Regions from separate parts of the Homo sapiens genome. Here regions 1 and 3 are each linked to region 2. The links are contacts of gene promoters, found by promoter capture Hi-C in human tissues and cell types (Jung and others, 2019). All regions are on one chromosome and are shown on one strand. Each heading gives the region's core, a stretch centred on a gene start or on the middle of the fragment in contact. The rest is flanking DNA. Distances are from core to core; before and after follow the strand shown. Region 1 overlaps STAM2 (signal transducing adaptor molecule 2). Region 2 holds the start of CACNB4 (calcium voltage-gated channel auxiliary subunit beta 4). Region 3 overlaps STAM2 (signal transducing adaptor molecule 2).

Region 1 (4,891 bases), core at 1,943-4,442, 59 kb after region 2:
TGGCACGCGCCTGTAGTCCCAGCTACTTGGGAGGCTGAGGTAGGAGGATGGCTTGAGCCTGGGAGGTCGAGGTTGCAGTGAGACAAGATCGCACCACTGCACTCCAACGTGGACAACAGAGTGAGCCCCTGTCTCTACAAAACAAAACAAAACAAAGGGCAGGCTCAGGGTGACACTAATGGAACTCCCTTCTCACAAAGGAAACCACAGGGGTAGAGAAAAAATATTCCCCACTAACATTGTGATCATACTAAATGTATCAGTTCTTAACATGCATTTCTACTCATAATAAACATCTGCCCACATTCAGAAATATACGTCTATACCAGTATTTTTAGTACCTGCATAATGTACCATTACATACAGAGTGGCCACAAAGTCCCAAAACAAGCTAGAGAAAAGTTATCAGCAAACTGGTTCTAAATCCATTAGGTACTCAATCTGTCTTCTTTGTTATACTTATTGGTATCTTTCATATTGGTGACTCACATAGACTAAATATAAAATAATTAGGAAGGCAGGATTTTGTGCATAGTCCTTTCTAAAGATGTTTCATAGCATTTTTTTGTTTAGCATCTGTCTTTGCCACAACCTTTCACCACATTCCACCCCCAGAATGAATGTAACCATCATGGCACGAATTTTTGTTTGTTTTGTTCACTATTATTATTCTTAGTACATAAACAGTATTTAGGGCACGAAGTAGGTGCTCCATAAATATTTGTTTCATGAGTGAATGAATGATGTTGGTTGCTCCTCCACATCCCATTAGCCTGGTACAATGTGTAAGGTGGGAAACAACAGCAGAGCTTTTGAGTACACGAACTAAAAGGGCTTTAACTCTGATGCCCATCTGTGGACATAGTTTGGCTGATGTGTGCAAAGTTCTGGACCAACCAAAGCTTCACTGCTGAGCATACAAATATTCAACGGGCTACATAGGATCAAACTTCAATAGCAACACCACATGGCAACAAAACGTAACAGCACTAGTGAGCTTATGAAGTTCTAGTTCTCCTCTTGTTTACTGAAGAGAAGTAACTCTCCGTTTGGGAGTCTCAACAAGGAGACAGGGTAAGTGGGGAAGGCAATGCTTCAAAAGCTTCTTAGATAGGTAACTAACTTTATATACTAAGTCTGAAAAGCAAATCATATATATTACAGCTTCATGCTAATCTTTCCTGTTTGTTTATGATGCAGTTTTTGCTATAACAGAATCTACCATTTTTCTTTTTATAGTGTCATTTAGCATACTGTTTGAATTACCTGAAGATTAAATATCTACCCACATTCTTTTCTGTATATTATTCCCCTTTCACATGTAAATCTTTAATGTATTTAGAACTTCATTTAGTGTATCTGGAACCTCACACGTGGTGTGAGGCAGGAACAGAAAAATATTTTTACGAATTTTTTGTCAGTTCTATTATTTAAGAATCTATCCTTTCTTCACTGATTTGAGGAGCCAGTATCATCAATTATCAAATTTTATGAGTATGGATATGTATGAGTACAAAGACACACACATAATCACGTGAATCTGATTTTAGACCATCTAATAACCTACCTAGTCCAGCTAGAACTCAACTTTTCATGATATTTTTCCAATTCTGGTCATGTAATACATTAAATATGAAGCCTATCTCATGCCTTCTAAAGCCGCCCAACAATTTTTAAAATATCTAATTAGACTATTGTTTATTTAATTTCCATAGAAAATGGGAAATTCCTGATTTGAATACTCTATCAAGCATAGTTTAGTCTCTACAAATATAAGACTCACAATTACTCTTTTTAAAAATATAAAATCTGAAGACTTCATAATGGCCTGCCAAAAAGGACTTTGTTTTTCAAGGGAGCTAAATAACATTTAAATTATGCACTTAGGAGTATTTTAAACCCCTGGAAAATTTTAAATATTATAATTAAGAAACCATTCTTTTATAGCATGTCACTTTGCCCAATGTTGGGGCCCTATATCACATTATTCTGTGTCAAACGCATAGAGAGGTAGAAAATTAAAAGAGCCCTCCTGGGGCCTAAATGCTAAATCGCCGGCATTTGGTGGGTGTAAGTCATAACATTTCATCACCAGGCTTTGATTACTGTATAAAAAGAGCCTCAAATACAATGTGAAATAGCTTAGAAAGATTCTAACAATATGATAAAGAATAATTCCATCAATATCTACCTACAAGGAACAAAAAGGCTCCCCCCCTTACAGTCATTATGTTCAAAGTACAGCTTTAAAAAGAATCTAGCTCTACCCATAAAACTTTTAATAAAATAGGCTCTATCAGTAATAAACAACTTAACTACATAAAATAAGAATGCTGCAAGAAAACTTTAAAGCTCCTCCTATTATGTTTGCAAATAAAAATTCATGACTAGTCTTCTGCTTCCAAACATGATAGAATATCTGGTACCAGACTTGCGATCCTACCAAAAACAATGATAAAACAGGCCAAAATCAATGAGGCAACTGTTTTCAGGGAATGAATAGCAGGCAGAGCAGGTCCCAGATCTTTGAGGGAAGGGAAATATGTAGTGAGCCTCACGATGGCCTCAGCTTTCTGCCTTGGAATACTTTCCCATCCAGCACAAGGAGGACTAGCCCAAGTAGAAGAGGACTAGCCCAAGTAGAGAAGGACTAGCCCAAGAAGAGCGAGAGATGGCGACCAGGTTTCTAAGCACAGTGATTAACCAGAGGCCCTTGGCCAAAGGCTGGGCTACACAAACACACTTGAGATGAGTCTCTATGGGGTCTAGCAGAGATTACCTGCTATGGGGCTGAAAGGTCAAGCAGCACTGGGAGTCATCCTCCCTATTATGCATGGAATGTTTGTGTTCCTCCCAAAATTCTTATGTTGAAGCCGTAATCCCCAGTGTGGCTGTATTTGCAGATGAGGCCTCTAAGGAAGTAATTGTTGTTAAATGAGGACAAAAGGATGGGACCCTGATCCAATAGGATTAGTGTCCTTTTAAGAAGATACACCAGAGAGCTAGCACTCTCTTTGTGTACACACAGCAAGGAAAAGCCATATGAGGGCACAGCAATAAGGGGGCTGTATATAACCCAAGGGGTGAGCTCTAACCAGACAGCACCTCTGCTGGCACTTTGATCTTGGACTTGCAGGCCCCAGAACTGTGAGAAAATAAATTTCTGTTGCATAAGCTACCTAGTCTATGGTATTGTTATGGCAGCCCAAGCAGGCTCATTAACACTGTCCAAACAAAGCAAGAGAACACTTCATGCATTTAGTTGAAAATCCAAAAAGGGCACACCTTAGGAGGAAAAGCCCTCTAGAATTTAGTTCAAAACCAAAATAGGCCTCCCTCACAAAGAATAAAACCAAGCCTGTCAAAACGTAAAAGATCCCCCCAATAATATTACAACCTGACAGAACAAAACTCAACACCATTTAAAGGAAGACAATGTAATTTAGCCTCCCTACAAAGAATAATCACAATGTCCACCATAATATAAAAAATTACTAAATAAGCAAACAAGTGTCCCAAAATCAAGATTAGTCAATAAAAATAGATGTCAGCATAACCCAAATGTTAGATTTGGCAAGAAAGAACTTTAGAGACATTATTATATTTTCAAGAATGCAAACATTGGTGAATGCTCAGCAGAGAAATGAAAACTATAAAAATGGAATGTCTGAACTGAAAAGTACAATATCTCAATTTAAAAAGTCATTAAATGGGCTGGGCGTGGTGGCTTATACCTGTAATCCCAGCACTTTGGGAAGCCAAGGGGGGTGGATCACGAGGTCAAGAGATCCGAGACCATCTGGCCAACATGGTGAAGCCCCGTTTCCACTAAAAATACAAAAAATTAGCTGGGTGTGGTGGTGGGCGTCTATAGTCCCAGCTACTCAGGAGGCTGAGGCAGGAGAATCACTTGAACCTAGGAAGCGGAGGTTGCAGTGAGCCAAGATTACATCACTACACTCCAACCTGGGCGACAGAGCAAGATTCCATCTCAAAAAAAAAATAATAATAATTGTAATACCCGATCACGTGGAAACTTAACAATCAGGACATGTGGATAATTTAGAGTAAACAGAAGGCAACATAAAAATGTATTATGATTAAGATATTACATATTAATACCTTTGGACATGACTAAAGCAATTTAGAACTTTGTCTTAGTCTGTTTTACACTGCTATTGAACAGAATACCTGAAACTGGGTAGTTCGTAAAGAACAGAAATTTATTTCTCACAGTTCTGGAGGCTGGAAAATCGAAGATCAAAGCACTGGCATCTGGTCAGGGCCTTCTTACTGTGTCCTTACATGGCAGAAGGTAGAAGGACAAGGGAGAGTGAACCCACCCCTGTAAGCCCTTTTTATTGCAGCATTAATCCATTCACGAAGGAGGTACTCTCATGACGTAAACACTTCCCAAAAGTCCCCATCCCCCAATACTGTTGCATTGGGGACTGTCTCCAACTCGTAAATTTTGGGGGATACATTCTGACCATAGCAATCTTAGGAAAAAAAATTGCCTTTTATCTATTAATAGGAGGAAAAAAAACCTCAATTGCTTCTACACCTTAAAATTGCAGTATAAGAACCAAGAAAAGCTAGCCAAAAAAAAACCATATATATATATATATACACACACAGATATATATAATTTTTTTTCTAAAGCAGAAACAAGAAGCTGGGCACCATGGTGGTGCACACCTGTAGTCCCCACTACTTGAGAGGCTGGGGTGGGAGGATTCCTTGTGCCCAGGAGTTTAAAGCTGCAGTAAGCTATGATCAAGCCACTACACTCCACCCACACCCTGGGTGACAGGGTGAAACACTTGTCTCTAAAACAAAAAAAGAAAAGAAAAAGGAAAAAGAAAAAAACCAGAAAATGAAAAACAAGTAA
Region 2 (4,351 bases), core at 1,484-3,983:
GTCTCCACTAAAAATACAAAAAAGTTAGCCAGGCGTGATGGCGGGTGCCTGTAGTCTCAGCTACTCGGGAGGCTGAGGCAGGAGAATGGCGTGAACCCAGGAGGCAGAGCTTGCAGTAAGCAGAGACTGCGTCACTGCACCCCAGCCTGGGCGACAGAGCAAGACTCCGTCTGAAAAAAGAAAAAAATTAAGTACTATTTTTGTGCCGAAAAATAAGATTGTGTATATAATACAATTACAATTAACTCCTGAATTTAAATTAGACCATTTAATCAAACCAATGAATTCCCATTTCATAGATGAAATATATTTATTTAAAAAAATCTACTTTGCTTTAAATTATTCCCAAAATTATTTAGCATGCAATACTTTTAACATTTCTTAAGCCAGCACATAGCAGCACGCTTTACAAGAACTTATATATACATCATCTCAATCAGTTACGGGCATAAATTGAGAAAAGAGTAAGAATATTAGAATATTATTTTGTTTGTGCTTGGAAGGAAGAATAAAGCATTAGTGCAGTTATGTAGATGAACTCAAAAGTTTTAGTCAAACAGCTTATGGAAAGAACTGCTGTGTAATTAGTATTTCCAAGAATTTGCAACAATGAAACACCACTAAAAATAGGCACCTACAAAATAAACACCAGCAAGACCTCAAACAGTTGCATAACAGAAAAATGTTTTTAAGATAAACAATATGTTTGCCTTATCAAATACATAATCTAAATACTGCAAAGGGGATAGAATGCACTTTTAGAATGAATTCGGAATCCAAAATGCATTTATTTCCATAATGTACATGCTTAGTGCTCGCTGAATTAAATGGTAGTCAAAATTTCCGCTTCTGCAGAAAGTGAAATTCTGCATAATAAATATCATCTAAATATGCTTTATAGACCCTTTTAGGAGAGGTCTGAGTTCAATTTTGATATCAATTCCTCGTTGATATGTTTAAATTGATGATAATCACTAAAGAAACACCAGAGCTGCCATCATAGGTTAGAAAACACATTACACAATACTGAGTGACCTAGAGGGAAAAGAACTTCTCAAGGTCACTCCAGCAGCCCACAGGAAGACCTGGGATAAAAGCCTCTTGGTGCGATGACCAATGTCTTCCTAGGTCACCCGAAACCTAGGACACACCCCGACAATTTCTGTTCCAAAGAAAGATCAAGGTGACTCATTGCATGATCTCTCTAGCACCCAGCAGCCAGGGGTGGTTTCATTAACAGCACATGGACAGTTGGAAAACTGAGGACCAATTTCCTGTGCCAAGGTGAAAGGCACCTAAGCATTGAGCATTACCAGCGATCCGGAGATCCCGAGCACAGACAATTCGCACTAGAACCACGCAGGAGAAAGCAAGCACTAAGAAAACAAACACGAAGTGAAGGCGCACCCAGACCCGGAGCTGAGTGCTGGCCTTCGTTAATTCCTATTTAACCAGATACAGCTGTCTTTCCCTAACTAAGCGAATCCAAGAAGCGGTCCTAAAGTGAGAGTAAACTTTCTGCTCAGTGTCTTTCTTTTGACCGGAGCTTGACGATCTCTCCCAAGATCCAGACAGATAAGAGTATTCAAATTAGGACAAAACAGAAGAAACCACTAAATCTCAACTCGAATCAAACCAGGTCCCCGGCCCCGAGGGGTCTGGTTACTCTAGGTCGAGTTATACGAATTAAAGACATTTCTCCACGCACCAAAGATACAACCAGACATATTTCCAGCTCTTAAATTCAACGTCCCTGACTTAAGCCAGGTCCCCACCGAACTGTCCACACACATGCACAAACTAACTTCCCGGGGCGGTGCGGAGACGCCGGGACGCGAAGACGTCAAGAGCCCAGGCTAGAGGGAGAGGGACTGAGCCCGAGCACCGGCCGAGGCCGGGAAGAGACGCGCGCGGGCTTGACCCGCAGCTCCCGCACGTGTGGGCCACGGCCGGCTCCAGGACCCCCGCGCCGCGCGCTCGGCCTCCTCCCCATCCTGGTCTCCCGCCTCCTTCTCATACCTGTCTGAGGATGAAGCTGGTCGAAGTGGTGCTGCCATCGGATCTTTTCAACCTGCTCCTCCGGGTTGTGGTGCCTCGGGCCACCTGGACTCGACACACGGGGGCCAGAGAGAAGCCGGTGAGGACCGCAGCGCAGAGCGGGGCGACCACCCCCGGCTGGAGTCCGCCTCCGGACCCGCTCCCTGGGGTCCCCTAGAGCCCGCACCCAAGTCTCCTCCGCGACTCCCAAATACAGCCCCCACCCCCACCCACCCACTGCAAGCCTCGACTGCTGAAAAGATGCTCGAGAAGAGCAGCCCGCAAGCACCCACCACATCCATTAACAAAGACTCTCAGGGTGCGGGGTCCGAGTCCCCGGCATCCGCTGGGGGAGGCTGCGGGCTCCGGAGCGGGAGCGCAGAGACCCGAAGGAGGGTGAGGAGGAGGAGGAAGAGAAGGAGGAGAAAGAGGAGGAGCGGGAGGAGAAAGGGACGTGGAGGAGGGGTGGGGGGAGCGGGGCCGCCGACTCCCGGGACTGGGGCCCCGCACGCCCGGCACGAAGGCGGGGCGCGCTAGGGCGGCGGAGGAGGTGTGAGGAAGGAAGAGGAGGAAGAGGAGAAGGGGGAGGAGGGGGCGGTACCTGCGAGGTGGGGGAGTGCGGCCCGTCCGCGGTCCCGTTCTTGGCGTAGGAGGAGGAGGACATCGTTCAGAGCCGCCGCATGGCCAGCCCGTGTGCGGTGGGCGGAGGGGGCTGGCCCCCGAGGCTGGGCTGCGGACGGAGGGGGAGGGCGCAGGACTTCCCCACCCGGCTCCAGGACCCGCGCCGGCGCCCAGGCTCCCTGCCCGCACTTCGGAGAGCGCGGCACCTTAAAGGGACCGAGGCGCTTCCCCCGCGCTCGCGGCGGGGTCCCGGGGAGGGGGCTTCTCGGAAACTCGCCTACCCGAGCGGATTGGGAGAAGCGCTCTCCCACCTAGCAAGCGCTTTACATCAGAGCTTCCAGAGGATGAAGGGAGGGGGAAATCTGGGATGGGGGTGGCAAGATTAAAATAGTCTGCACAGTTTAAAATGAGACAAAGGTGGCACGGTTCATGAATCAGGACTTGGGGACGGAAGCTGGTGCAGTGTGGCGGGAATGGGAAGAACCGAGCGGGTGTGTGTGTGTGTGTTTGCTGCACTGGAATTTTAAAAGGGCAAGAGCAGAGCCACCTTCCGCGACTTCACTCATCAGCCTAATGTGTAAGGCATGGGGTTTTGTGGCTTGCTTTTCGTCCGTGTTTTTGTATTGCTTTGGCAATTCTGTCCTTAGAGCTGCGAGTCACACACATCCAGGCAGCTGTGAGAAACCCAGCCAGCCTGAGTCTGACGGGAGATGCTGCCCCGCCAAAGACCAGTATGTCCTACGGAGTTTTGAAGGTCATGTTAGACCTGCTAAGAAGCAAGAGTTGGTCACTGTGCCTCCCATTTCTATGCGAATGGATATTTTCAAGGGGGAGAAACTCATCCTTGCAACCATACACAACGTTTGCCATTGGTTTCCTCCTGTAAATACATACAAGAGATTAATTTGTGATCAAATTAAAAGAGAGGGATTGCGGAAAGGAAGAATAAGTGCGAGGTATTGACAGAGGAATAAGAAGAGGGAAGAAAAGTATATGCAAATTCAAAAATAAAGAGACTCCGTTTAAATTAAAATATACTTACTATCTCAAATCGCTAAATCAGCTTGCATTCTAGGACTTTATGTTTATGGACACAACTACCATGCTTGTTTTAATAATTGCTTGGCTTTATTGAGGTCCTGGTTATATCTTACCATCCACCAGACACTTCCTTTCCATTCCTAATCCCTTCACTTAATCCAAACCTCTGTAACAATCTTATAACTAATGTCCTTGCCTCCAGGCTTCCTGGTGCATGTGCACGTATGCACATGCACACATACACACGCAGAGATTTCATTCCATCTACACACTACAGGCAAAACCATTTTCCTAAAATATCTTGCCCAAGTCACTCTTCTCTAAGATAAAGTCCAAACTCCATGGTCCAACAACTCAGCCTCTCCTGCATTTCTGATCACTCTCCATCTCATTTCTCCATCTTGATCTCTCTATACAAACCTTCCAGCAAGCAGGCAGGTCTAGTCATCAATACCCAAGTATTCCAAATACAATCACATTTGAGCTCTTCTGCTTTGGAATGCCTCCTTGGAATATGCCCTCCCAACAACCTACACACCCGGCTGAATCCTACCTTTCTTCTAAATGGGACTCAGCTCACGCTTCCTCCACAGAAATCCTATCTGACTACTCCAGTCCCACATAATTCTTGTGCTTCTGAAAAACTGGAGCA
Region 3 (4,807 bases), core at 748-3,247, 35 kb after region 2:
TCAACAATTTTTAACAATATAGCACCAATATACAACACTATGCATAATACACACAGATTAAGCTCATGCTAGAGAAAGACTACTATTCAGCACTACTACTACATATTACTATCATGTGACTAAAAGCAAGGTCAACTTTAAAATAAAAACCTCATTATGTTTTCTTGAAACTATTAACTAAGTTGACAGACTGTGAAATCTGGAGTTATCCCAAAGTCTTAAAGACATCTAGAAAACTATGATTAGTTAACTAAAACAAACTTAAGCCACAGTATATAAACTATGTAACCTTTGCCCATCAGATATGAAGATTTTTCATTTACTTAAGACATTTCAAGATTAAACATACTGTGTATTTCCCAATGTGAACACTGACACAATAAAGAGCACAACGCTGTATTCTATATTCATAACCAGATGTTTCTTCTATATAAAGATTTAAGAAGAATTATTTACCAGAGATTCTTATCCCAAAAGATTTTTTTTAAAGCATAAAAAACACGTTTTAATTGTTCTCACATTTCTTAGAGACTAAAAGACACATCAACATGCATCAATTGACTATGTTATGAAGTTAACAATTATCATGTATAATTTTGTCCTTTAAATTCATAATACAAGAACATTAAACAGCAATAAGCATTTTAAACATTTTGACTCAATTTGATGTACTGTTATTTTTAATTCTGTCCTTTTTTGGACTGCAAAAATCTTCAGCCAATTTTACTAGTGGGCTTAAAGAAATACAAATACTTGCTTTATGAAAAGGATTTGCAGGTTTATGACAATGCCTTCCAAGTAATACTTTTACTATTTTACTGTACTAGTCTGTTCCCCACCGGAGATTTCTAACCTCTAGAGGCAAATACAAGGCAGAAGAAACTGAAGACATCATGAATAGCTAAAATATTAAATAATATTAAAATAATATAAAATATTCACTAAGTACCTTCTAAATCCAAAAGGTCTTGGGAGTCTGGTTTTGAATCTGTTGGATCTATACTCTGAAGTACCTGCAGGGCTCTATCCATCTTATCCTAAAAAAGTAACAGGACACTTTTCAAAAACTCAAGAGTTTTAACTTCAGTAAATATGAAATTACTCTTTCCAAGCATTCTCAAAGATAGTACATTTAAATGTCTTGATAGTTTAACTATTAAACAAAAGAGGGACCCTACCTCATCTATATAAACAGGCTCAGGCTCTGATTTCTTAATTTCCTCCACATCATCATCAATTACATTCAATTTGTCCACAGCCGCTATAGAAACAAAGTAATTTTAAGTTCCTCAGCATTTACTTCAGTAATTTTAGTCATTAATTTATAAGTGGCCTATGATTGTCCATAAGAAAAAAAAATAAAAGTCCTTCAAATATTCACCACATTTTATAATCAATATTACATACGTTTATTACATACGTTTGGTCATTTATTTCACAAACATTTATTTAGTACTCATTATGTGCCAGGCATTGTTCTAGGCATTTATACAGACACCGGTGAATAAAACAGACAAGAATCCCTAACCTCTTGGAACTTAAAATTTTAGTGGAACAAGTGTACAATATAAACAGCAGCTGACATTTTAGGCATTTTCCTGAAAACTGAGTGTTACCACTGGGGTGAATAAATATATGACAGCAGACTATTATCTAGCAGATTATTAACTAGCTAATTTCATAGTTACATCTACGAGTTCCTTCTACACTCTTCCCTTCTATTTAAAAAAACTATTTCCTATATGAACAAAAAATAAAACTTATTTTAAGCTAACTTCGATAATAGTTAAAACAACACTAAACACAAAAGTTTTTCATGAAGAGAAGGTTGAAAAAAAACTTACAAATACATAAACCCAGAAAACTATTTAAATGTTCCCTGGAGTATTGCTAGAATGTACCATATTTTAACAAAGTAAATTTTGGTAAAAATAAAACTACAATAAAAACCTATGTAGCCAAACAATTTTAAATCCCAACTGTTAGTCATTTATTTCAAATATTTGGCTAACTTTCAAAGAACAGAAGTCAGCATAACACAAGGATAAACTGAAAATCCACAATATTTTTTCCTCTTAATACTCTCCAGCCTATGTCAAGGAGAAACTGCTATATAGAATCCCCTGAGCATGATCTATAAAGTTATTTTTTAAAGGTATCTCCAATATTCCTATCTACTTAGAGAGTCAGTTAAAAGGAATAAAATTATAAATAATGGCAAAGTACTCTATATTCAAATCAGTGAGTATCAACCTCTCACGACTTCATTTTTCTGAATGTATCACTCTACACATACAAAGACGATGTTACACATGCATAATGCTTTCATTTGAAGTTCTTTCTCCTGAACTGGCAAGGACTAGCACTGATATATCCCTCAGTGAGTCATTGTTAAGGTCAAACTGACTGACTTTAGAATCCTGGCTCAATCACTTACTAGACACATAATCCCTCAGCCTCAGTGTCCTTATCTGTAAGACAGGGCAACAAAAGTAGCTATCTCACAGAACCGTGAGATTGAAATGCAATAGTACAGATGACTTAGCACAATGCCTGACAAATAATGAATGCTCAAAAACCAGTAACTATTTCTGATTACCATCATTAGTACTATTACGAGCTGTTCCTTTACACTCAGATCCCCCCACCTCCCTACCTGAATAACAAATGGAATGCTTTCTCAGCATGGTTGACAATGGCTAAAGTGACTAAAATGGAACTGTCTGTGGCTGCAGACTGACTAAAGTTCAGCAGATCTGAAACAGGAAGCTTAGTGGCTTGATTACATTACTTTGTTGTTATTGTTTCAAGCTCCCTAGGATCAAATCAAGGTGAGGAAAGGTCTAAAATTTAGGAGTACTCCTAACCCCAGTAATCATATTCGGCACTTGCCAACCACAACCTCCCCACACCACTCCCGCTTTGCCTCTGTGGTTCACTGATGAATCAAAACACTCTTTGTACAGAATAGATATGAACTGCCTCTTACACTACATAGTTAGGTTGATTTAAATACCTGCATGGTCACAAATGATTTTATGCCTGACATTTAACTATGTATGCTAACTCTCAGAGGATGTAAAATAAGAGGAAATAATTCTTGGGATTGACACAGGCTAAATTAACCCCTTAATTTGGTTAAAAAGTAGGTTAGATTGTCATGCCTATAAAGAAATGATTTAAAACAAAAGTTAAATGCCAATCTACTTTACATCCAAAACTGAAACATAAAATTTAAGTGAAAAAAACTTAAATAGATCTAATGTCGTCTAAGATTTAACTTACCTGCCTCAGTCTCTATGTTTAAATTAGTTGTTACAAAATTGGATGGGAAAAGTCCTATTCCTCTGTGATTTTCTCCTTTCCACCAATTGGCATCACTAAAAATACAGTGCAAAAAATATCATTTGTTCCCCACATTTTAATACAATAAGCAAAGATGAATTAAAAATTAAATTTAGCCTCCTTTGAATATATCCGTTTACAAGCAGCTATAATTGAGTCATTTTTCTTAAATTTAATAAACGATATTAAAAAGTACAAGTAAAACAAATATCCACATCCCTATATCTAAACTTAGAACCAGCCAGGCGCAGTGGCTCACGCCTATAATCCCAACACTTTGGGAGGCCAAGGTGGACAGATCACCAGAGGTCAGGAGTTTGAGATCAGCCTGTCCAACATGGTGAAACCTCATCTCTATTAAAAATACAAAAATTAGCCAGGCATGGTGGCACACACCTGTAGTCCCAGCTACTTGGGAGGCTGAGGCAGGAGAATCGCTTAAACCCGGGAGGAGGAGGTTGCAGTGAGCCAAGATGGCACCACTGCACTCCAGCCTGGGTGACACAGCAAGACTCGTCTCAAAAAAAAAAAAAAAAAAAATTAGAACCAATTAGCAATTAATCATTTTTTATTCTGGACTTTAAAAAAGTAAGGCCGGATGCAGTAGGTCATGCCTGTAATCCCAGCACTTTGGGAGGCCGAGGCGAGTGGATCACCTGAGGTCAGGAGTTCGAGACTAGCCTGGCCAACATGGCAAAACCCTGTCTCTATTAAAAATACAAAAATTAGCCGGGTGTGGTGGCAGGTGCCTGTAATCCCAGCAACTTGGGAGGCTGACGCAGGAGAATCGCTTGAACCAAGAAGGCAGAGGTTGCAGTGAGCTGAAATCACGTCACTGCACTCCAGCCTGGAGGATAGAGACTCTGTCTCAAAAAAAAAATAATAAAATTAAAAAATTAAAAAGTAAACAGGAAACACAAGTGCCCTTTAGTAATGACCCCAAATCCCAGCACCACATCCATCTTACCACACTGCCACAATAAAGTTGGTAGCCTTCTTGTCAGTCTGTTTTTTGTTCTTTTACACGTATCTATAGCCAAGTCCATATAGAAACAGACACAGATGCTAATCCATACAGACCTTTTTAATTTTATATATTAATACTTTCAAATTTTGCTTATTCCTTTTAAATTAAAATTCCAACACACGAATAGGCCATATTTATCCATTCCTGTAGAGATGGACATTTAGGTTGATTCCAGTCTTTCACCATTACAAAGATAAGGTAATGATCATCCTAGACTTGAGGACACCCATGCAACAATTTCTCTGCGCTTATTCACAGACGTGAACTTGCTGGGATTTAAGAATATAAACATTTTTCTTTTTTTTTTTTTTTTTTTTGAGACGAGGTCTTGCTGTGTCACCCAAGCTGGAGTGCAGTGGCACGATCTTGGCTCACTGCAACCTCTCCCTCCCAGATTCAAGAAATTCTCCTGTCACGGTCTCCCAAGTAGCTGGG

Evidence for each region. The method cuts DNA at HindIII sites, captures the fragments that hold promoters and counts their contacts. A contact is called where the count stands out against the background at its distance.
Region 1: a fragment that was not itself captured here is called in contact with the fragment with the promoter of CACNB4 in region 2 in 1 of the 25 tissues and cell types used here (lymphoblastoid cells).
Region 3: a contact is called between a fragment that was not itself captured here and the fragment with the promoter of CACNB4 in region 2, in 1 of the 25 tissues and cell types used here (liver).

The regions. Positions count from the first base shown.
Region 1 is chr2:152,154,483-152,159,373 of GRCh38, forward strand. The region is part of intron 1 of STAM2 (signal transducing adaptor molecule 2); the gene reads right to left. Among named protein-coding and RNA genes, the nearest start is that of STAM2, 19 kb to the right of the region's middle. The HindIII fragment of the contact is 5,894 bases long and covers 246-4,891 here.
Region 2 is chr2:152,096,311-152,100,661 of GRCh38, forward strand. It overlaps CACNB4 (calcium voltage-gated channel auxiliary subunit beta 4), which reads right to left and starts at 2,734. Exons shown (of 14, transcript NM_000726.5): 1 at 2,639-2,734; 2 at 2,020-2,103. The coding sequence starts at 2,701. RefSeq lists a silencer at 2,643-2,932. The HindIII fragment of the contact is 13,270 bases long and covers 1-4,351 here.
Region 3 is chr2:152,132,224-152,137,030 of GRCh38, forward strand. It overlaps STAM2 (signal transducing adaptor molecule 2), which reads right to left. Exons shown (of 14, transcript NM_005843.6): 8 at 3,286-3,380; 9 at 1,179-1,261; 10 at 950-1,037. Among named protein-coding and RNA genes, the nearest start is that of CACNB4, 36 kb to the left of the region's middle. The HindIII fragment of the contact is 5,672 bases long and covers 1-4,807 here.